Regions from separate parts of the Homo sapiens genome. Here regions 2, 3 and 4 are each linked to region 1. The links are contacts of gene promoters, found by promoter capture Hi-C in blood cells and fetal thymus (Javierre and others, 2016). All regions are on one chromosome and are shown on one strand. The core of a region is centred on a gene start or on the middle of the fragment in contact, and the rest is flanking DNA. Distances in the headings are between cores, read along the strand shown. Region 1 holds the start of PCNX4-DT (PCNX4 divergent transcript). Region 2 overlaps SLC38A6 (solute carrier family 38 member 6). Region 3 overlaps L3HYPDH (trans-L-3-hydroxyproline dehydratase). Region 4 overlaps JKAMP (JNK1/MAPK8 associated membrane protein).

Evidence for each region. The method cuts DNA at HindIII sites, captures the fragments that hold promoters and counts their contacts. A CHiCAGO score of 5 or more calls a contact.
Region 2: a contact is called between a fragment that was not itself captured here and the fragment with the promoter of PCNX4-DT in region 1, in 1 of 17 cell types (fetal thymus). The highest score is 5.0, in fetal thymus.
Region 3: a fragment that was not itself captured here is called in contact with the fragment with the promoter of PCNX4-DT in region 1 in 2 of 17 cell types (neutrophils and total CD8 T cells); the score reaches 6.6 in neutrophils.
Region 4: a contact is called between a fragment that was not itself captured here and the fragment with the promoter of PCNX4-DT in region 1, in 1 of 17 cell types (erythroblasts). The highest score is 5.2, in erythroblasts.

Annotation. Positions count from the first base shown.
Region 1 is chr14:60,089,458-60,094,810 of GRCh38, forward strand. It overlaps PCNX4-DT (PCNX4 divergent transcript), which reads right to left and starts at 2,289. Exons shown (of 5, transcript XR_943918.4): 1 at 2,246-2,289. PCNX4 (pecanex 4) reads left to right here and starts at 2,466. Exons shown (of 11, transcript NM_001330177.2): 1 at 2,466-2,962. RefSeq lists enhancers at 2,287-2,416, 2,507-2,696, 2,660-3,293, 4,874-5,168, 4,951-5,353 and a silencer at 4,874-5,168. The HindIII fragment of the contact is 2,213 bases long and covers 1,528-3,740 here.
Region 2 is chr14:60,982,637-60,987,989 of GRCh38, forward strand. It overlaps SLC38A6 (solute carrier family 38 member 6), which reads left to right. Exons shown (of 16, transcript NM_153811.3): 2 at 1-2; 3 at 2,094-2,167. Among named protein-coding and RNA genes, the nearest start is that of SLC38A6, 4.1 kb to the left of the region's middle. The HindIII fragment of the contact is 1,189 bases long and covers 1,414-2,602 here.
Region 3 is chr14:59,473,235-59,478,587 of GRCh38, forward strand. L3HYPDH (trans-L-3-hydroxyproline dehydratase) reads right to left here. Exons shown (of 5, transcript NM_144581.2): 3 at 2,858-2,980; 4 at 2,635-2,772. Among named protein-coding and RNA genes, the nearest start is that of L3HYPDH, 8.5 kb to the right of the region's middle. The HindIII fragment of the contact is 4,772 bases long and covers 1-4,552 here.
Region 4 is chr14:59,490,034-59,495,386 of GRCh38, forward strand. It overlaps JKAMP (JNK1/MAPK8 associated membrane protein), which reads left to right. Exons shown (of 7, transcript NM_016475.5): 4 at 4,985-5,191. LOC124903326 (a long non-coding RNA gene) reads left to right here. Exons shown (of 2, transcript XR_007064196.1): 1 at 1-833; 2 at 1,528-2,018. It also overlaps a transcript of L3HYPDH not described here. Among named protein-coding and RNA genes, the nearest start is that of JKAMP, 8.2 kb to the left of the region's middle. The HindIII fragment of the contact is 930 bases long and covers 1,915-2,844 here.

The sequences.
Region 1 (5,353 bases), core at 1,039-3,538:
TCAGCAGGGTAGGAAAAAATACACGAATCTTGAAGACATACAGATACGGACTCAACTCCAGATGTCATCACTTATTTTACTTTTCTCAAGCTCAGATTCCTTACATTTGAAATAATAATAAGCTACCTCATAAGGTTAAGATTAAATGAGGTACACAAAGTACTGATTCTATGTATGCTCTAAGTATGTGTTGAATGAATTAAAGAATAAATGTTCCCCTACCTGGAATACCTCTTCTCCCAGCTAACTCTGTTTTTGTTTTTGTTTTGTTTTTTTTTTTTTGAGACAAGATCTCACTCTGTTGTCCAGGCTGGAGTGCAGTGGTGCAATTTCGGCTCACTGCAACAACCTCTTACCTCAGCCTCTGAGTAGCTGGGACCACAGGCGCACACAACCACACCTGGCTAATTTTTTGTATCTTTTGTAGAGACAGGGTTTCACCATGTTGCCTCAAACTCCTAGGCTCAAGCGATCCTCCTACCTCAGCCTCCCAAAGTGCTAGGATTGCAGGCAAGAGCCACCACGCCTGGCCCAGCTGTCCACTCACCCTTTAAAAATGGATTGCAACCATCCTTAATTTCCCCAGAATTATGTGTCCCACTTTGTTTCTGAAGCTCAGCGCATACCTGTTTATCACATACACTGTAATTACTGATGTCCTTGTTGTTCAAGTTATGTCCTTGATGTCCAAGTTATATTTTGGTAAATTCCTTAAGGATCATGTTTTATTTGACTTTATATCTGCAGCAATTAGTGTAGTTCCTGACAAATAGGAACCACTATTCCCTTCACTATTTCAATAAATGTTGAATGAATATTTTATACACAGCTAACCAAAGGGCTTGTACCATATGCCCTACTAATTTTATTCTAAGAAAGCACGATGTTCAAATATATTTGAAAAACAGCAGATATTTCAACAATAAACATGTTAATTCTGCTTGGGTCATATGTAATGCCCATGAGAAGAACAAGCATAAATACAGACTCTCTACATAAAGATAATAGCTCATCCTTACTAAGCACTTAAGCTGTGCCATTTACTCTGCTAAGCAATTTACAATTATTTGATTTAATCCAATGACATAACTCTCTGCGGGTTAAGTTCTATTATTTGCCTTATTTTACAAGATATGGGGAAACTGAGCACTAGAGAAATTACATAACCTCAAGATCTCACAAGTAGTAAGCAGTAGTGCCAGGGTTTCAACCCAGACTTCCTGACTCTGGAGCCTCCACTCTTAATTACATGAAACTCAGACTTCTTGGCGGTAAGTGATGCTTCCGAGATGCTTAATGTGGTACTCTGACCCGCAATGAGTGAGCTTCAATGAGAAAAACTATGGATGGACCAACAGCACGTTTTCCCATATTCTATCAAATCGTGAAGATACCAAACTATGAAAGGGTCTACCTGCAAATTAAGTCCTTGAAGACAAGTATATGTATATCCGGGGTTTTCTTCCACATGCTTTCAACACACTACACTTTTGCTCTGGACACAATATCTTAAAAATAAATAAATAAAGCTTTGGCTTTTAATATGAACACAGTAATTATTTTTCTATTACGACCTGAAAACCTAAATACTTAAATACAAAGTCAGCATTTCCAAGACAGCCAAGAGCCAAGAATTAAAAAAAAAAAAAAATTAAGGCCGCATTTATAGTTTTGAGGAATGGAGATCCAAACAAAACAGTCCACAAGTCATCTTGGACGCTGAAGTGTGCAGAACTGCTAGGGCATCTACCCAATCACATGGGGGAATTGCGGGTACCTTGATACCGACAAGTTAGCTTCAAAGTTCCCTTACCCGAGCCTCTAAATCAGCTGAGACCAATCATTGTTAACGCTCTCCGGGGCCGTCTTGAGGACTCCCAGTTGGCAATCTGGAACGTGTCCAGAACTTGGTGGGGCGGGGGGGGGATCATATTTCGTGGAGAATGGGGGAGGTGAGCCCTGGGTATAGGGATAACTTTTTAACTAGCGTTAATTGGGGTCTTTGCGGCCAGGCTGTAAAGATTCCCGCCACACTAATATGAATCAGCCATGGCCTTTTAATTGGAACGCCGGAACTCTGCCTTGTTTTATTAATATCTTAATAACACGTTTCTATAATGGACATGTTGGTTCCTTGTATTTTAAAACGCAGCCACAAACTGAGGCGATAGCGATCACGTTATGCAGTCCCCAATCGTCCAAGCCGAATAGGCTGCATGAAGTATCACTCAAAAACATTCATTACCGTCGGTGTGTTGAGTGGTAACGCCAGTGTGCGAATTCATTAATGGAAATCACGGGACCCCGAGCGGTTGGAGATCTGCCACACCCCTCTGCCTGCGTTAAGACAGCCTGACCCGACCTCTGGTAAATTAATGCGCAAAATGGCGGTTGCACGTCTGTTTCCCCACCCCGGCGCACAATCCTGAGGAAGGACGTCACGTCACCAGGGCAACGACGCTCTTGCGTAAAGGCCCGGCCCAAGGGAACGTTCAGGGCGTCTCGGCTTTCCCCGCTGCTGCTTCTGCTAGGCCCAGTGCGAGACCAGAGCACGAGCGACTCCCGTCGTCCCCGGCCAGGCAGATGTTGGCCTAGTCCTGGCGCGAACGAAGCGCGCTATTTCCCTGCTTCCTCTAGGCCAAGCCTGCTTTACGGCAGGGCCCGCCTCGGGAGCGAGCACAGACCGGGGCAGCGAGGCCAGCCAGGCGCCGACGAGGTCCCCGAACGCGCACGCGCTCCGTTCAGCTCCGGGTGGCGGCCGCCGGAGTAGACGTTAGCCATGGAAACCGAGAGCTGGCCCGGGCGGGGCCGCGGTGAGCTCGTTATTCGGCCGCCGCAGCTTTTCTGCCTCCGCATTCGGGCACTAACCAACCTCCCGGCGGGAGCGCCCAGCCCGAGTTTACCTGCAAAAATGCGGTCCCTGGGATGCCTTCGCGTCTTCTCTTCCCTCGGGTGACTTGAGGTACGTTCGTTGTCCGACGTCCACCTCGGGACTTCTTCGGCATCTTAATGTCCAAGCCTGTGCGGAGAGCCAAGTTGTTCTAGGGGCTTTCATTGCCACAAGAAACATATTTTTCGTTTTTCGTTGCAAAACCTTTAAGTGCAATTATTGCGCTTAATGAACTCAGTCATTAGAGATAGTAATTCAGTGTGATTTTAACTTTCCTTTGAAAGACTACTTTAGCCTGTTGAATTGTAGCATTTTGTTTCTAAGAGACTCGTACGAAATGGAATATGGCACACCCACCCGGAGCTGTGTCCGTTAGGTAGAACTGTACTCTCGCAATATCTCCAACTAAACCTCTTTTGTCCGAATTGTTCAACTCATGGCCCCCTGAACGTGAAGCGCTCCTTCCCCACTGATCTCGACCTCTGTCCCCACAACCTCTTGTCTCTCCAGGACCAGAATTTACTCCAGTGAATCGGAAGTTGTTTTCCATGCCGCTGAATTGGTTATCTGCTCTGTATCCATCATTTTTCACTTACTCATTTTTTACTATTTTTAGGTGTTTGTTTTCTTCATTAAATCATTCCTGCAGTTAGGGCAAAGACTGCCCTTCATGTTATTTGGTATCCACCGCCACTCACGCCAAATCCCCAGACCTTTAGCATAGCATCCAGTTCAGATGTTGCCTTTTCACGAATTTAACTGTTTGTAGCATCTGTTGGCTGCTCCTAAATTTCCTACTTAAAGAGCTGCCTTCTAATTATTAACTGCTGTGGAAAATACCAATCAGGGAAGCTTTTTCTTTTTTAAGAGCTTTATTGAGATGTAATTTACATTCAATACAATTCACCCATTTATAGAATTGTGCAACCCTTACCACAGTCAAGTTTGGAACATTTTCATCACCCCAAAAAGAAACCTTTTACCCTCAGCAGTCACCACCTCCCTCCCCCCATTATCCTTACCCCACCAGCCATAAGCAATTACTAATCTGTTTTCTGTCCCCATAAATTTGCTTATTTTGGACATTTCACATAGACGGGAAAATACAATATGTGGCCTTTTGTAACGGGCTTTCACTTAGTGTGTTTTCAAGGTTCAGCCATGTTGTAGAATGTATGAGTACTTCATTCCTTTTTATAGTCTAATTTCATTGTGTGGATATATCACATTTATCCATTCATTGATGGACATTTGGGTTGTTTTCATTTTTTGGCTGTTAGTAATATTTCTTCTATGAATCTTTTGTGTACAGATTTTTGTGTAGACATATATGTTTTTATCTCTGTTGGGTGTATACCTGAGAGTAGAATTACTGGGTTATATGGTAACTCTATGTTTAGCCTTTTGAGGAACTGCTAGACTGTTTCCCAAAGGAGCTGTATCATTTTACATAACCACCAGATATGTTTGAGGGTTCTGATTTCTCCACAGTCTCATGAATACTTATTATTGTCTGCCATTTTTATTTTAGCCAGTCAAGGAGGTTTGAAATGGTACCTCATTATGGTTTCAGTTTGTGTTTTTCTAATGAGTAATGATGTTGAGTATCATTTTATATTTTCTGTGCTTATTAACCATTTGTATATCATCTTTGGAGAAATGTCTGTTCATATCCTTTGCTCATTTTTTAAAGATTGGATTATTTGATTTCTCATTATTGAATTGTAAGAGTTCTTTATATAGTCTAGCTATAAGTCATATATATATATGATTTGCACAAATTTTCTTCCATTCTATAGGTTGTTCTCACTTTCATGATGGTGAGAACCTTGTTTTTTAAACAGTTTCTCACTTGTCTTGTGAAAGGGTACTGGATACCAACCCCCTCATGCTGGCTTAGCCATCAAAAGCGTCCCATTTTTACACTTTGTAGATTCCTCTTGGACCCACTTTTCTCCAAAGAACCCTATTCCCCCAAGTTATCCTTCCAGTTCTCTAGCATCAAAACAAAATTCGCTTTCATTTGGCAGTTGTTAGTCCAAACTGCACCATTTTGTAAGTCCCCCAGCATTTTGCAGACCTTGGTCAAAGTGACACATTCCAGGCGAGTTTGGGCTGTGAGAAACATCCTGCCTAACCACCTGACCACAACACACAAGAACATCCTTATCATACCCTGCTAAGCAAAGGCCCAACTGAAGGAACGTCCCTATCATACCCTGCAACTGGAACAAAGGGCCAAACCACCTGATCATAGGAACATCTTAATATCCTGCCGGGCAGCAAACCAGACAGCCCAGACCCCTCCTGCCCATACCTATAAGTCCCCAGCCTGTGAACGGCAGTGGGCTCTGGCATTAAGCTGCACCCCCCACCTCTGCAGGTTTTTGCAATATACTTGTGTTGCTGTAGAGCCCCCCCCCACCCCCATCTTTCTTTAACTCCCACCTTCCCTTTAAAAAA
Region 2 (5,353 bases), core at 758-3,257, 890 kb after region 1:
AGGTGAGTCTTCATATTTTAGCATCAAATTTTTTTTTCCATTTTGATAATATACGGAGAAGTAGAGAGATAGATTCCAGAAGCTGCTATTATACAATTTCTAGTTAGTTATTTCTGGGGTTTTAGCATTTTTCTTGTTATTCTTGTTGCTAGTGTGTACCTTGGAGGGCTACTACATAGCTTCTTAAATACACAGAAGTGTGACTAGTTTTTAAAAATGGGAACTTGATCCACATTTCATTTATAATGAAATATGACACTTAAGAGTGGCATATTCATTGTATCTCCTTGGCCAAAGTGAATCAAAGCCATGCAGATTAACTTCCAAATAGCAATTTTGTGAGTGCAAATACAACACATAATCTTTTCATTCCTCGCTGTCTCTTTGTATTGTTAAGTAGTCTTATTTCACTTTCAGAGGCCAGACATGTGTTTTGTGCCTGTTCTTTTTTATGTTTCAGGACTTAGCTTGTAGGCCAGTTTGCCCAAAATAGAAGACAATCCTGGATATTCTGTGCTTTCATAGTACTTTGTATATTCATTCTGTTATTATAATTGTTACAATGATATGTTTGGAAATTAATGTTCCCACTAAACTGAAATCCTTTACAACTGGAGGTCAAGGCAGGCGGATCACTGGAACCCACGAGTTTGAGACCAACCTGGGCAAGATGGTGAAACCCCATCTCTGCCCAAAATACAAAAATTAGCCTGGTATGGTGGAGTGCGCCTGTAGTCCTAGCTACTTGGGAGGACTGCTTGAGCCTGAGAGGTTGAGGCTGCAGTGAGCCATGATTGGGCTACTGCACTCTAGCCTGGGTGACAGAGTGAGATCCTGTCTAAAAAATTTAAAAAATAGAAAAATCCTTTATAACTGGACCTTATTCTTAGCATCTAGCACCACATGGCTAATAGAATGAATTAACAAATTGGCTTTGTCAGTAGAAGCAGATCTATTTACTAGGAAATTTAAAATGCCTAGGGAGTCTCTTTTATGTTTATTTCCTGCTTTTATTCCAAATTTTTTGATAAGCAAAGCAACTTTTAAGTAACCCAACTTGCTTTTATTATGGAATGTACTCACAAACTTTCATTATTTTTAAAATTAAAAACTATATGTGACACCTTAAGCAAGACATAGTCAGAGGACTTTTTTTTTGATTCTCTTTGAAAAATCATAATTTATGCACCAGGGTCTTACATGCAGATATATACTGCTGAATGTGTGCTCACCCAGTCATAGCAACCATCATTTTTGGTGATGCTAAAGTGTTATTTTGTGAAGTTCCTGATGTCAGTTTAATGACATTTGTACTTTTACCTCTCAATTTTATTTATTAACAAGTATTAACTGGACCACAGAGAGAAAATTTCTTCAATGACTGGGGCAGTTCACTGGGGATAGCTGTATAGAAGCTTGTCCTGCTGGTGTCTTCCTAAAAATGAATAGGAAATTATCTAAGTTTTTTCTTTCACACTGTTGGTGAGAGGACCTCAATCATTACATTGTTTGCACATTTTTCAAATTGCATCATTAGAGGTGTGTTAACTACATTATTTTAATTTAGTTTGGTTTGGAGAGTGTGTGCGTTTAATAGATGCTAGAAAATACAGCCTAAATAAATCTTAAGTACACCTTAATAAGATGAAGGTATGATAAGGAGGTCAATATCACTGGAAGTAGAGGGAGGAAGGGAAAAAGAGAAGACAATGAGATTGCATAAGTAAAACTTCTGTTTAGACTTAAAATAAGAAGAAAACCAGTCATAAAAAGGAAATATTACAAGATTATTTAATGGCTGATTCAGCAGTCAGCAGACAAGACTGCAAAATGAGGAAGTTTGCTTGTATTTTTAAAAAAGTTTGGTTTTTATTTTTTTTTATTTTAAAATCAGTATATTTTCATTTAAATAAAATTGGTAAATACAAAAAAGTAGAAAAGTATCTTCTTAATTTCCTTAATGAACATAATTCTGCTACTCAGAGATAGTTCCTGTGAATATTTGACTGTTAAGCAATTTGTTTTTGTAATGAGACACCATACAAAAGACAAACTTTTGGGAGGTTTTGACCAGGTGTTCTTTTATGTTTTAGCTTCTTGCTGCTGACAGTTGCTCTCCTGGCTTCTTACTCAGTCCATCTTCTGCTTAGTATGTGTATTCAGACAGGTGAGTAAAAATGTTATGCTGCTTCATTTAATAAAGGAGTCTCTTGAGTTTGTATCTACATATAGAACTGGATGTCTCAAATCTAATATCCAGTGAGCATACATTTTTATTAGATAGGGTGATCGGAATGGAGAATTTGAAAAACCAGGATATACAGACCCAATACTGTGGGGGAATATCCAAGCACAGGATGGGAGGAGGTAATTAGCATTTTTACCTGCTTTCCTCCACAACACAACCTAATTTTCTGGAGTAGAGTAGATCATGGGAGGGTCTAAAAGGTGTTCAAAGGATCCAAACCTTATGCTTATGGAGAAATCATTTTCTCAAGGAGAGAACACCTTCTCAGAGCTACTGTTGCCTTCCCTGCCCCCATCTGCCTGCTAGTCAGAGGTAGGGATGGCAGAATTAGGATTGTAGGAAGTAAGGTCACAAAGCTTTAATTTATTTAGACACATTTTGTATTTTTAATTGCAAGTCTAGAATAGGGTAGTTTTTTCCTAAGAGAAATAAGTATGTGCAGTTAATTCAATATATTTGTGTATATACTTTTTCCCATTTGGAATTTTATTATGCAATTCAGTCATGTATTGAATAAGTTCTTTTAGGATCCAGTAAATAAAAGTATATGAATTATAGAAGTGCTTTTCTAAGATTTTCCTTTTGTCATTAACAAATATTCTATGTTCATCAGTCCTGGTCTTTTTATCTGTCTAGTCTCTTTTGTCTTTGGATTAGGTCAGCTTTGATGCCAAAATCATGGGTTTAATTCTTATATGGATGAGTTCGTTTTGCTTTATCTGGCCTTGTGATGTTCAGATTTTAAGAAGAAAAGTAGATACACAAAATAGATAAAAATGGATTTCTTAATTCATTTAGTGTTTCTATAAAAGAATACCTGAGGCTGCATAATTTATAAATAAAAGAGGTTTATTTTGCTCATAGTTCTACAGGCTCTGCAAGAAGCATGGCCCTTCTTATGAGGGGCTTTTCTGCTCCATCTGCATCTAGTAAGGGGCTCAGGCTGCTTTCATTCATTGTGGAAGGTGAAGGGGAGCTAGGATATGCAGAGATCACATGGCAAGAGAGGAAGCGAGAGAGGAGGGGCATGCCAGGTTCTTTTTAACAACCAGCTCTCATGAAACTAATAAAAGTGAAAACTCACTCATTACCCCAAGGAAGGCACCAAGCCATTCATGAGGGATCTGGCCCCAGGGCCCAAACACCTCCCCTTTGGCCCTACCTCCAACACTGGGGATCTGATTTCAACATGAGATTTGGAGGGGTCTGACAAACCAAACTATATCAGTGAGACTATTCTGTGCTGAAACAGGTGAGTGAAGCCCAGTGATGTTTCTTAAGAATTTTAAGACTCTTCAGAATAATTCTGAAGCCACTGCTCTAGTTTGTTTTCCTAAAACCTGTCCATCATCAGAAATACTCATAGATCTTTTTATACACAGAGAGCTCTAAGCCTCAGGGATTCTAATTTCAAAAATCTGAGGTGAGACTCAAGAATATGTTTTTAACAAGGCAAAACCAGTTTAGGATCCATAGTTTATAGCTCTAACTTGTACCAGTGCTTTGGCCAGCCAGTGCCAGATATGTTTTTAACAAGTCCTCCAAGTGATTCTTATGCAAATCTAGTTTAGGATTCATAGTTTATAGCCACAACTTCTAACAGTGCTTTGGCCATCCAGTGCACGCCTTTGCTCTCAAGGGGCTTGGGTGAATGTGCAGACAGATGAAAATACTAGGAAGCAGTACAAATATTAATCCTAAAGTAACAGGTTGTTCATAAAAGCATCCTGAATTTAGGAATAATAGCTTTAGATAAATATATTTGTAAATCCTGCTGAAACTTGAATTTTAATTGCATGTATTGAAATTTTGCTGAATGTGAAAAAAATTTTACTTAATTGTGATACTTTAACATCTTGGTAGATTCTTTCAATTCATTCTGTTAAAAGATTAATACTTTAGTCAACTATGTGGCAATTATGTCTTTCAAGCTTCATTTTAAAACTTCATTTTAGTTTTAATTTAAGTAAAATGTTTTATTTCGGTTATGTGGGAGTAGTATTCAGTGTGTGGAGATTTCTAAGTAATTTTAATTTTTTACTCCTTCGGTTCACATGTATTTAACTTTAAGATTCTGACACTGTGTTTGTTCTTTTCTGTAACTCTGGGGCGTATGAAGTGAATATATCTGTTTCTCTTCTTTTTTCTTTTTCTTTGATTTCTGTAGCCTACTTGGGCCCATGAACTAACTACTTCATGGTTCTGCCTGCACATTGACTCACCTGTCTTCCGTTGATTGAATTCCTTCAATCTTTGTAAAATTCTCTGTGGAGGTAGGCTTTTCCTTTTTTTTTTTTTTTTCAATACATACATTCATATATAAAGACTAGAGTATAATACGTAACTAACTCTCTCCCAACAGTTTGTTGGACTGTCATAAAGGATTATTATGCTCAGATTGAATTCATTGGTAAGAGAAAGAGCTATCATGAGTTTTTATGAAATAACTTCTTCATTTATTTGCTGGTGGTAAAGGGTAAAGAGAAATTTTCATCTTTATAAAAGTAAAGGATTTCTTCACATGAAATTCTACTTTAGATTTTATGGAGCGTTTGGGGTCTATCAGGACTTTTCATGGGAGCTGAGGTGGAATGTAAAGAACCTTATTCTCTCTAGCCTTCGTTTGTCATCTGTAAAATGGCAATGATAACACTTCCTTCTTGGAATTGTTCTGAGAGTGAAATAAAATAATGTATATGAAATGTCAAGTCCTTGGCAAATGAGTGCTCCCTGGGGCAAAAATGCCCACTGGGGCAAAAATCCCTAAAGATTGCAGGGTGTTGTACACACTACTATCTCAGAAATAGTTGGTTCGTTGCCATTCTTTTGGAATACTTCTCATGCTCTGATACTAAACCCACAGCTCCCCTCCACTGGCTTCCATGTCACTGTCAACTGGAGAGAGTGAGAGTCCTAGAACTCTGCATACCTCTGGCCGAACCACAACTCCCTAGTCGTTGATCCCTACTACTCACTGGATTGTCACCATTATTTGCCTTGAGACCATTTGGATTATGACATTATACCATCTATCTCAATTTGTGTTAGTCATTTCAAGTATATTAGGTTATCTTTCATTTCTCAGACTCATCCCATATGGCTGTC
Region 3 (5,353 bases), core at 917-3,416, 620 kb before region 1:
CATGGTCAGACTTGTGTTTTAGATAACTGTAGCTGTAAAGTGGGGATCAAACTGGAGAAGAGAGAGACAAGAGACCCAGAAACATGTTAAGAGATAACCTCAATTCACTGAATGATTGATTCCAGAGTCACTATGGGAGTTTTCAGTGAAGATGGAGAAGGGGAATATATACTAACATAGAGATAGTTTGGAGGTAGAACTGATAGGCCTCTTGATCAATGCATGTGGGAATTGAGGACTAGCAATAAGTTAATTATAACCATAGTTTCTAGCTTGGAAATGATGCTAGTGATGCCATTAAACACAATGGGGAGAGAAAGGAAGAGCACATTTGAGAAAGGAAGAAAGGAAGAACTTTTTAACAAGGTGAGTTTGAGACACCTCTGGGACAGTCATTTAGAGATGAGTATAATAAACAGTTGGGATTAAGAGCGTTATATTCAGAAAGACATACAGGGTAGGTAGTCAGGGCAGGGATAAACATTTGGGAGTCATCATCAGTAGATGGTTGAGAACTGAAGCCTAGGAAGTGGATGAAATTGCCCAGCAGCATCAAACTGTAGAAGAGATGAGAAGGAAGGTGGGGATGAAGTGACGGTAACATCTAAATGGAAGGACAGGGAAAGGAAGCTGCAGCAGGGGAAGAAACTGAGAAGGTACCATCAGGGAGCCTGGACGGGCCCACACAGACAGGGAGAGAGCATGATGCAAGTGAAGACATTCTGGCAAGCATGATCAATAACTATAAAACAAGTAACTGGAAACATTAACTTCAGCATATCTTTTTATGTTCTAATTTTTAAAAGAATAATAACTGAAGCTAAAGGTAAAATGTCAAATATTGTTAGGGTATAATACTTTATCTTTTTATATCTTTTTATAAAGCTGCTGTAGTGTGACAGGTCCTTCACCAGGTTATGTAAGGGTGTATGTCCACTGCTTGAACCCTGAAGGCTGGGGGGTAAGCCAAGGGCATGGTGCCCAGCCAAGAAGCAGGTATCCCTGAGAACCCAAATATCCCAGAGAATATCTGGGAACATACCAAGGAAAACAGTCCTATCACACATACACAGTAGGCAAAGAGCCAGAAAATTAGCTTAAAAGCAGCTTAGAGTCAGGAGGCAGGATGGGTCTCCACAGTTGTTCAGCTGCTTCCCAGGAGTGCCTTATATGGAAGTTCTAATAAATGCATCTACTTGCCAACCTGGACTTGTCTGAGTCATTCTTTGGTCTCTCGGCTCCCTCTCTATTTGGGGGGACATTGCAATCCCAGATTCTTCTCATAACAGCTCCTATAATATAAAGCCTCATTGACCTTTTGCTTTGTCTGACAGCAATATAATATAATGCTTAACAGCATGTGGTCTGTTCAGAGACCCACCTTCATGACCTGGATCTGCTACTCACTAACTAACCTCTGGTAAATTACCTAACTTCTCCAATTCTCCGTTTTATCATCTATTGAAAAACGATAATAACAGCACAGTACTGACCTTGTAGGATTCTTGTGAGGATTAAATGAGATGGCATGTATCAAGTGCTTAGCTTGGAAACTGATGCACAGTGAAGTATCCAATAAATGTATGTTGTTATTTTTATGTTCCATTTCAGATTTTGAAGACAGTATGTTCCAAATTTTTGCATACAACATAAATGGTTTCACATGTTTCAGATCACTATATGATGTAGAGATCCTTAAGGAAACTCTAATATTCAGAAACACCAAATCTTAAAAACAGCTATATTAGGATAGATTGTTTGCTATGTTAAAGGACTCTTTATGAGTAGAATAATTTACTGAATGTAGATCATTCTGTAGTAGATTTCATTTACTACTGAGATAAGATTCATTACTTAGCTGTTAGCACATTTAAAATTTTATTCCATTACAAAAATTTGATGTTCCACAACTTTTCAGGGCTTTCACATCCTATTATATCAAATAAAACACTATTATAAAATAAAACAAAAAAACAAAAAAAAACCCCAAATCCTAATGGTTCTCAAACCTTTTGGTCTTAGGACCCTTTTATACCTTAAGATTTGAGGACCCCAAAGAGTTTTTCTTTATATAAGTTATATCTATCAATATTTACTGTATTAGGAATTGGATATATCTGTTCATTACTTCATTTTAAAAATAACCCATTATACATTAACATATGAATAACACATTTTTGTGAAAATAACTGTTTGCCAAAACAAAAAAAATTATGAGAAAAGTGGCATTGTTTGATATTTTTGCAAACCTGTTTCATGTCTGGCTTAACAGAAGACAACTAGGTTCTCATATCTAGCTTCTGCATTCAATTGGTTGGGTTATCACATATCACATCGTAGCCTCTGAAGAACCCCACTGTACACTCTTGAGAGAATGAGAGTGAAAAGCAAATAATGTCATTATTATGAACACAGTTTTGACCCTCTGAACCCATGGAAAGGACCTTAGGGGCCCGCTGGGGCCCCAAGACCACACTGGATAACCAATGTCCTAGTTGAAAAGAAGTTTTTACAGGCCTGCTTTAAAATTCTCTTCTGAGAGCTGAGTGAAGAAATTTATCAAACACCCAACTCAGGCCTCTCCAGTCTCATGAGTGACACATTTATAAATAAGAAGCTAAGGGTGCCACTTACCCTCACAGCTTTCCCTGTGAATACTGAGCCAGTTGCACTGCTTTTGAAGGCTCTCATCTGGTTCAGTTCCAGAAGCCCTTTGTGATACTGTAAGGCAATTCGGGCTGTCACTCCTGAGCCAGTGGGACTTCTGTCAACCTGTTTCAGAATAAATGAAGACAGAATGTTCATAGTGTGTTCCATATTACCTGGCTTTTGTCCCTAAACATTACAGTTTTAATACCTGTTCATCTGCAAAAACACAAATGTTGGTGGTTGGTTCCTTGGTATAAGCATCTTTTCCATCTGTTAATATAGTTCCATATAAAAAGGCAAGGTCTTCACTATCAGGATGATTAATTTTAAACTGCAAGTAACAAAAAAAGATCACATGCAAAATAAATATTTTGATTCAAATTTATAAATAATGCAGATGGGTCATTCTTAGACATAACTTTTTAATCCTTATCATTTTTAAAATACCTTTTTGGGCAACGTATACTAATTGCTAGAAATTATGTCTTTGTCTAGATGAAGAAACATAGTTTTACTGCAATTTATAATTCTTATCATACTTTGAGTCCCTTCTAAGGAAGCTGTCCTGCATATAGCCTTTGCTAAAAAAGCAGTCCTATTTTATACACCCCTCCCACCCCAAATACACATAGTCTTTGCAGCACTGACCCCAGGATGGTCAATCCACAGGCTGGCGATGGCTGCTCAAACAGGATGAGCTAAGGCAATCATAGTCTTATTCTCAGGAGCTTAAGGAGGATAATGTGGGAAAATCAGGCTCTGAGTATCTAGAGCTGAAGTTAACACCAATGATAGAGACAAAGGCTGTGAGAGGATATAACATTCTGTAAGAATGCAGAAACTATTAGGCAAGAGAAACAATTGGAGGAAAAAAAGATTTATTGTAGACGATGAAGTCAGTTGATTCATCAAAAAGCAGCAGATATGCACACAAAGAAGCAGGCACTGGCAGGGTAGCTAAGTCACTCAATGGTAGATTCAGGCCCAAATATGCAAAGCTACTTGTTCTTGGAAGTCTAGTTCTTTAACTTTTCCTGGATTTCTGCAAACATTTACAGTATGACTGAGATTGCTATAATCTGACTTCCCTTGTATATGCTTACAATTAGTACTTTCTACTTCCAGTTACATGTCATTTAAAGCAATGGAACAGCTTTGGGTTCTTAACATCCAAAGAGTCCATCTGAAACCAAGTTAAAGCGGCCTGCAGATTGAATCTTTGTTCTCCATCCTCTTAAAGTGATACGCCCCACCTCCACTATAGCACATTCCAACATAACACTGTTCACAGGTATGCTCGCTTCCCCAACTGGAGCTAGCTCCTCAAAGGTGGGGTTTGTTCTTTCTTCGAGTCTCCAGGATCTAGCAGAATGTCTAACATATATACAGTATGTTTGTGGTAAATGTTTGTTAAAAGAGTGAATGAATTAAGATGAATTTATATTAACTTTAACTCTCCATCCCCATGGCCTTTTCCTAAATCTGCTTCAGCAGTGTGAATAGTCAACAGTTCACAGAGTAATTAATTGTACTGTCTGATACATCAATAACAGAACTTGTCCTCATTTTTCTCAGAATCCTTCCTCCCTCAAAGTCCACCCCTTGCCATCTTGTTGAGTTCAAACTCAAATGAGAAGTACAAAATTACACCTTTTATTAAGATATCCATGACTTTTTCTCTTGAATTCATGAAAAATTAGGAGAAATTATTTTGTGCCAAATTGTTAACTCAGACTATTAGCTGTCCTGCTTAATGGAACAGAAAACTGATGTAAATTCAGAGCTTCAAAAGTTGCTATCATAATATAATTGCACATATTGGTACTGGCAGTACCAGAAAAATAATTTAGAATACTGATACAGTGTATATTCTCATTTTAAGTTATAAATTATTTTAAAATAAAGCTTCAGAAAATGATAATTATTCGTACATTAGACACTATCTTACACAAGTTACTTTTTACTACTAATAAATTCTCACATACTAAATTCTCACGTACTAAACATTCAAATACTGTACATGTGTTTTATTTATAGGTCCCAATTTCAAGGTAAAATGTGCTTCACTCGTGCTAGAAGTGAAAGAATATCCTAGAATTATTATCTAAACTGATTTTATCAAATTAGCTTTCCCAAGTAAAAACTAGAGTTATTTAAGTAGTTATTTGAGTAACTTCTTAGCAATGTAGGAAAAAAATAATAGGAATTAATGTTCTCTATGAAATAAGAAAAAGGCTTAAATCTATTCTGTACACTATATTTTACATTTATTATTTTCAAGTTTAACAGAATGACCACACACATGCATTTAAAATTTGCAGAATTCTATAAATATATTTCTACACATTTAAGGAACTATAAACTATATTAGTATGTATGTATTATTAAATTTAGTAACTGCTAGGTGTGGTGGCTCACACCTGTAATCCCAACACTTTGGGAGGCCGAGCTGGGAGAATCACTTGAGGCCAGGAGTTTGAGGCCATCCTGGGCAACATAGTGACATCCTGTCTCTATATAAACACACACACACACTCACACAAACACAGATTTAGCTGGGTGTGATGGGGCATGCCTGTGGTCCCAGTTACTCTGGAGGCTGAGGCAGAAGCATCATTTTGAGCCTGGGAATTTGAAGTTACAGTAAGCTATGATCACACCACTGCACTACAGCCTGGGTGACAGAGCAAGACCCTGTCTCAAA
Region 4 (5,353 bases), core at 1,130-3,629, 600 kb before region 1:
CATCTCAGCCTTCCAAGTAGCTGGGACTACAGGCGTGTACCACCATACCCTGCTAATTTTTTATATTTTGTAGAGACAGGGTCTCTCTATGTTGCCCAGGCTGGTCTCGATCTCCTGGGCGCAAGCAGTCCTCCTGCCTCAGCCTCCCAAAGTGCTGGGATTATAGATGTGAGCCACCATGCCCAGCCACCAGGATCTTTTAAACAACCAAATCTCACATGAACTCACAGAGTGAGAACTCACTCATTACTGTGAGCACAGCTCCAAGTCATTCATGAGGCTTCCACTCCCATGACCCAAATACTTCCCACTAGGCCCCACCTCACTGAGGATTACATTTCAACATGAGATTTGGAGGGAATGAGCATCCAAAAAAATCACTCCGTATTTGAGTGAATCGTTTATTGGTGAAGGTCTGGTGTATGGAAGTGGCATCATTTGATGTATATTTTAGGAAGAAAATTTCTGTGGAGGGTAGGTAGATTAGAGGTGAGATATTTAATAGAAGACTGTTGTCAAAGAAATAGACTATGGTAGTTGGAATGGAAATGGAAAGGATGGTCAGATAGAAATAGAATCAGCAGTTTTCTGGGGCCTACCTAATAAATCCAGGGTGGTTATTTACATTGGGAAAGCATTTATAATTTTTTAGAATAATTTATAAAAATACTTTAAAAATAGCAGCTTTCATCCAGTTTTTAATTTCTGTTATATTAATAGAATGATGAGAGATGGGGTGAGAAAGGAGATATGACAAAGCTGAAATAGAATAATTGTCCAGTCAATTGGTGGGAAGTTCTCAGCCCACAGTAAAGAAGAGCTAACAGGCATAGGTATGTCTTCACCAAATGCGTTTGAATTCAGACGTCAGCTATGTTTTGAGGGAGAGACTTGAAGCAGAGACTAGAGGGTGGTTTGAGGGAAGGCGAGGAGTGACTAATGCTCAGACAGGAAAGGAGGTGGGTTTAAAAAGAGGGAGTTGTACAACTGTGCTTTGCCTAGGAAATTGGTAACAAGGACCACAAGGGCCATCTCTTACAGTTTCCTGAAATTTTGCACTTACAGTCCAGATAGATGGGGGCTGGAGGTGTCTTAACAAATGTTCATAAAAACTGGGGATAACCCCTGAGCTGATCTGGAAGGATGCATGGTTTGGCAGATAGGTAAAATGTGTTTGAGGTGGAGGGTGATGCATGCCCAGATGTGTGGAGGCACAAGTGAACTTAAAGTCATTTAGCATGGCCAGGAAATAGAGAAGACGATGCTGGTGGGGGTATTTTTCCAGAAAGACAAAAAGACTCAAAATTAGTTTAATGAGAGGAGTTCTAAAATTGTATTTCATTTTGTAAAGATTATGTGTCTGGCTGTAGATAGGTTGAAAGAGAACATGACAAGAAGACCAGTTAAGAAGGTTATCAAAGTAATGGCAAGAAATAATGAAGTTGGGATTTTGCCTCTGAAAATATTAATTCTATAAGGAAGCAAAATGTCAAATTATGTAATGTGAATGTGTGTTTATGTTTTCAGTGTTTTCATCTTTGTAAAATGGCACAGGAGTTCTGTTTCCAACAATGTGAGTTAATTAGGAGCTCCAAGTGACCCACCTGCATGAAATAACTAAAGTCTGGGAAAGATAAACTATGTGAGACATTGCTGGTCCCAGCTGGAGATGGAGAGATCTCCAGGAACTCTTCTCTTTCAAAACACAAACCAGCCCACCCTGAGTTAGGCCAGAGTGACAAGGCAGGCAGTTGGGATGAGAGGGTTGTCTGAGGTCAATTGCTGGTAGCAGCAGTGTTATCTGGATACTGAATCTTGGGTAGCCTCTGCTAAGACTAGACCCTCAAGGGCCTGAAGCCTAAGGTAGTAGTGGCCATGGCTGCTGACAAAAGTAGCAGAGCCTCTTTGCTGGAAAGCTTCCCCATTCTCAATTTAACCCTGTAAGACTCTTGCTCATTAAAATCTAGTAATGGCCTCATAGTCTGTGGTTACTAAATAAAATAGCACTAGGACTTATTGGTACATGCAACAAACAATATATTTATGCTCTGAGAGGACACAGATAATGGACTTTCACCTACAGGATATGTAACTGCTACCTATAAAGAAAGTAAGGATGTAGTCACAAGCTGTCCATAACAATAAGATTATTAGGAATAAATACATGTGATGGGGAAGAAAAGGAAACTTTTAGAAATGAAAGTTTATACTTGCCAAAATAAAAAAAAAGGTAGTCAGCAGATTAAACAGTTGAAGATAGAATTAGTGAACTAGAAAAAAATGCATAGAAATAATGGAATATTGCACTGAGAAAGAAGGAGATGGAAAATCAGGTGCAAGAAGGTGAGATCCATGTTGGGTAGGTGTGGGAGTGGTCCAGGCTTAAAGTCTTACACCTCACAGAAGCCAGTCTCTCTTATAACAATTCCATGAACTTCTGGGGTCCTGCAAGTGACATGCCAATTATAAGAGTCACTGAACTCAAGAAAGCCAAACCATGGTATCCCCATCAGGCATTTATAGTTCATTTATGGTTCTCCCCAGTCGAGATATAATTTACCAGGCAAGGATCATTTGTATCATAAGCAGTGTTGCCTAGCAATATAGTTGACATTCTATCCTTATCAGGCTTCCAGAGGAAAAGAGCTAGAGAGTTACCTGAAGCCCAGATTCTCATGCACAGCATAAATGTTTTGTTAAGTCTTTGCCCAAAGTATCTAATTAGGGTCTCTGGAAAAATAGAGACTATGAAGGAGAGCTGCTATTTTTTTTTTTTTTTTTTTGAGACGAGTCTTGCTCTGTTGCCCAGGCTGGAGTGCGGTGGTGCGACCTCGGCTCACTGCAAGCTTCGCCTCCCAGGTTCACGTCATTCTCCTGCCTCAGCCTCCCGAGTAGCTGGGACTACAGGCGCCTGCCACCACGCCCGGCCAATTTTTTTGTATCTTTAGTAGAGACGGGGTTTCACTGTGTTAGCCAGGATGGTCTTGATTTCCTGACCTCGTGATCCACCCGCCCCGGCCTCCCAAAGTGCTGGGATTACAGGCGTGAGCCACCACGCCCAGCCAAGGAGAGCTGGTATTTTAAGAGATAACTGGCTTCAGGTTTTACAAAAATAATGAGAAACCGATTCACAGATCCCAGAAGGAAAACACATCCCAAGCAGAATAAACAGAAATTCACACCTGCATGCATCATAATTAAACTGCAGAGTACTGAAAACAAAAGAGAAGCCATATGGAAGAGAACCAAGGCACACCTGTTAACAGCCTTGGTTGTGCTTCCAGCTAACAGCCAGCACTTACTGCAGCCATGTGAGTTAGTCCTTTTAAATGCTGCAGCATGGTCAAGCCTCTAGACCAGTGCTTCCCAAATTGACACCATGTGGAGCAGAAAGAACTGCCCAGTTGAGCCCAGTCACATCACAAAATAGTGAGAAATGATCAGTGGTTCTTGTTTCAAGCCACTAAGTATTGAGGTAGTTTGCTATGCAATGATACATAATGGAAACAGTGTTCAAGTAGAAAACTCAAAATCACCTATAGACTAGATATTAGAAATAACAAGACAGTTTAATAAAAAGGTTGACTATAAGATAAATATATGAAACTATTTCCTATATTCCATGTACAGTACAAGTACTGTGACATAGCTCAGACCATTAAGTTACATAGGATTTATCTGAGCACTTGACAAGCCAATTTTAAAATTTATATGGAAGAGCAAAGGGCCAGGAATAGCCAAGACCACCAAAGAAGTAGAAAAAATGTACATGACATCAAGGATTATGATCATATTATTCTTCTGGCTCAGGAATAGATAAATGGACTCAAGAAACAGAATAGAGACCCAAAACACAGACAATTATATATGAAACTTTATATGAAAGAAGTGCCATGGCAAATTAGTTGGGAAGGTAGGGGTGGGAAGGAGTACCTGTTCAGTAAAATGCTGCTGCTGGGACAACTGGCAATTCAAATGGGAAAATGTAAAGTTAGATCCTACCTTACGTTAGGCACAGAAATCTCTTCTAGGTGAATTAAAGATAAATGTGAAAAGCAAAACCTTAAAATTTTTAGAAGAAAATTTGGGTGTGTGTGTGTGTGTGAGATACACACACATCTCAGGGTGTGGAAGGACTTTTTAAAACATTTAAACTGCTAAGTAGAAAAAAAAATAAAAGCCTGGTGTATTAAAATTTAGAACATGTTTATAAAAAGGCTTCACAAAGAAAGTGAAAATTGAGCCCACAAACAGGTACACATTTGCAACACATTTAACTAACCACAGAATGGATAAACAAATCACAGTATTGTCACACAGTGGAATCCTAACACAATAGCGAAAATGACTGAACCTCAGCTATAAGCAATAACATGGATGAAACTTGGAAATGTAATTTTGAGTAGAAAAAAAATCTCAGAAGACTTCCATTAGTGTGATATCATTCAAAAATAAGCAAAACTAACCAGAATAGTTGTGAAGCAGAAATACAGTTGGGATAAAAACTTTCTGGAAAAAAGTGGTAAAAGCAGTTTGGTACATGGTTGCCTCTAAGGGAGAGACAGAGGTATGGATGGGGAGGAACAAAGATGTAGTTACAAATTGTTGACAGTGTTCTAGTTATTGGGTAGGAGATGAGCTTATAATATTATAATTACTATACTTTCTAACAAACACGTTACATACCATCTTTTATGTGCATATTAAGATTAAAATGATACACAGATAACTAAGAAATTTTTAGCAACAATTTGGCAAGATACTAAAGATGCAGGGTAGATATAATTTCTGCTTTTCTGTTACACATTTAGATAATACTGCTACAGTGTTATTTATCCCTTTTGAGAAAAAAAGGTTATACTCGAGTAGTTTTTGACTTTTCTTATAGATTTAGAAATCTGTATCTTGACACATGTACATGTTTTATTAAAGCCATTTAAATATTGCAATTTTTCTAGTAATCATGCCTCTTTTCCTTCTCTAGTTCCAGCGCACTTTTCCAACACATCACTGCATTATTTGAATGCAGCATGGCAGCTATTATCACCTTACTTGTGAGTGATCCAGTTGGTGTTCTTTATATTCGTTCATGTCGAGTATTGATGCTTTCTGACTGGTACACGATGCTTTACAACCCAAGTCCAGATTACGTTACCACAGTACACTGTACTCATGAAGCCGTCTACCCACTGTAAGTGTTTATTTCGACTTAAGATCATTGTTTTTTTTTAAATCTCTGAGGATTATTATAGATTTTATGGCGTTTGGAGACAAAAACAGGTGTGGGTTTGAGTTCTGGGTCTGCCAGCGGCTTTATTACCTTGAACATGTAAACAGCCTCTTGTAACTTCAG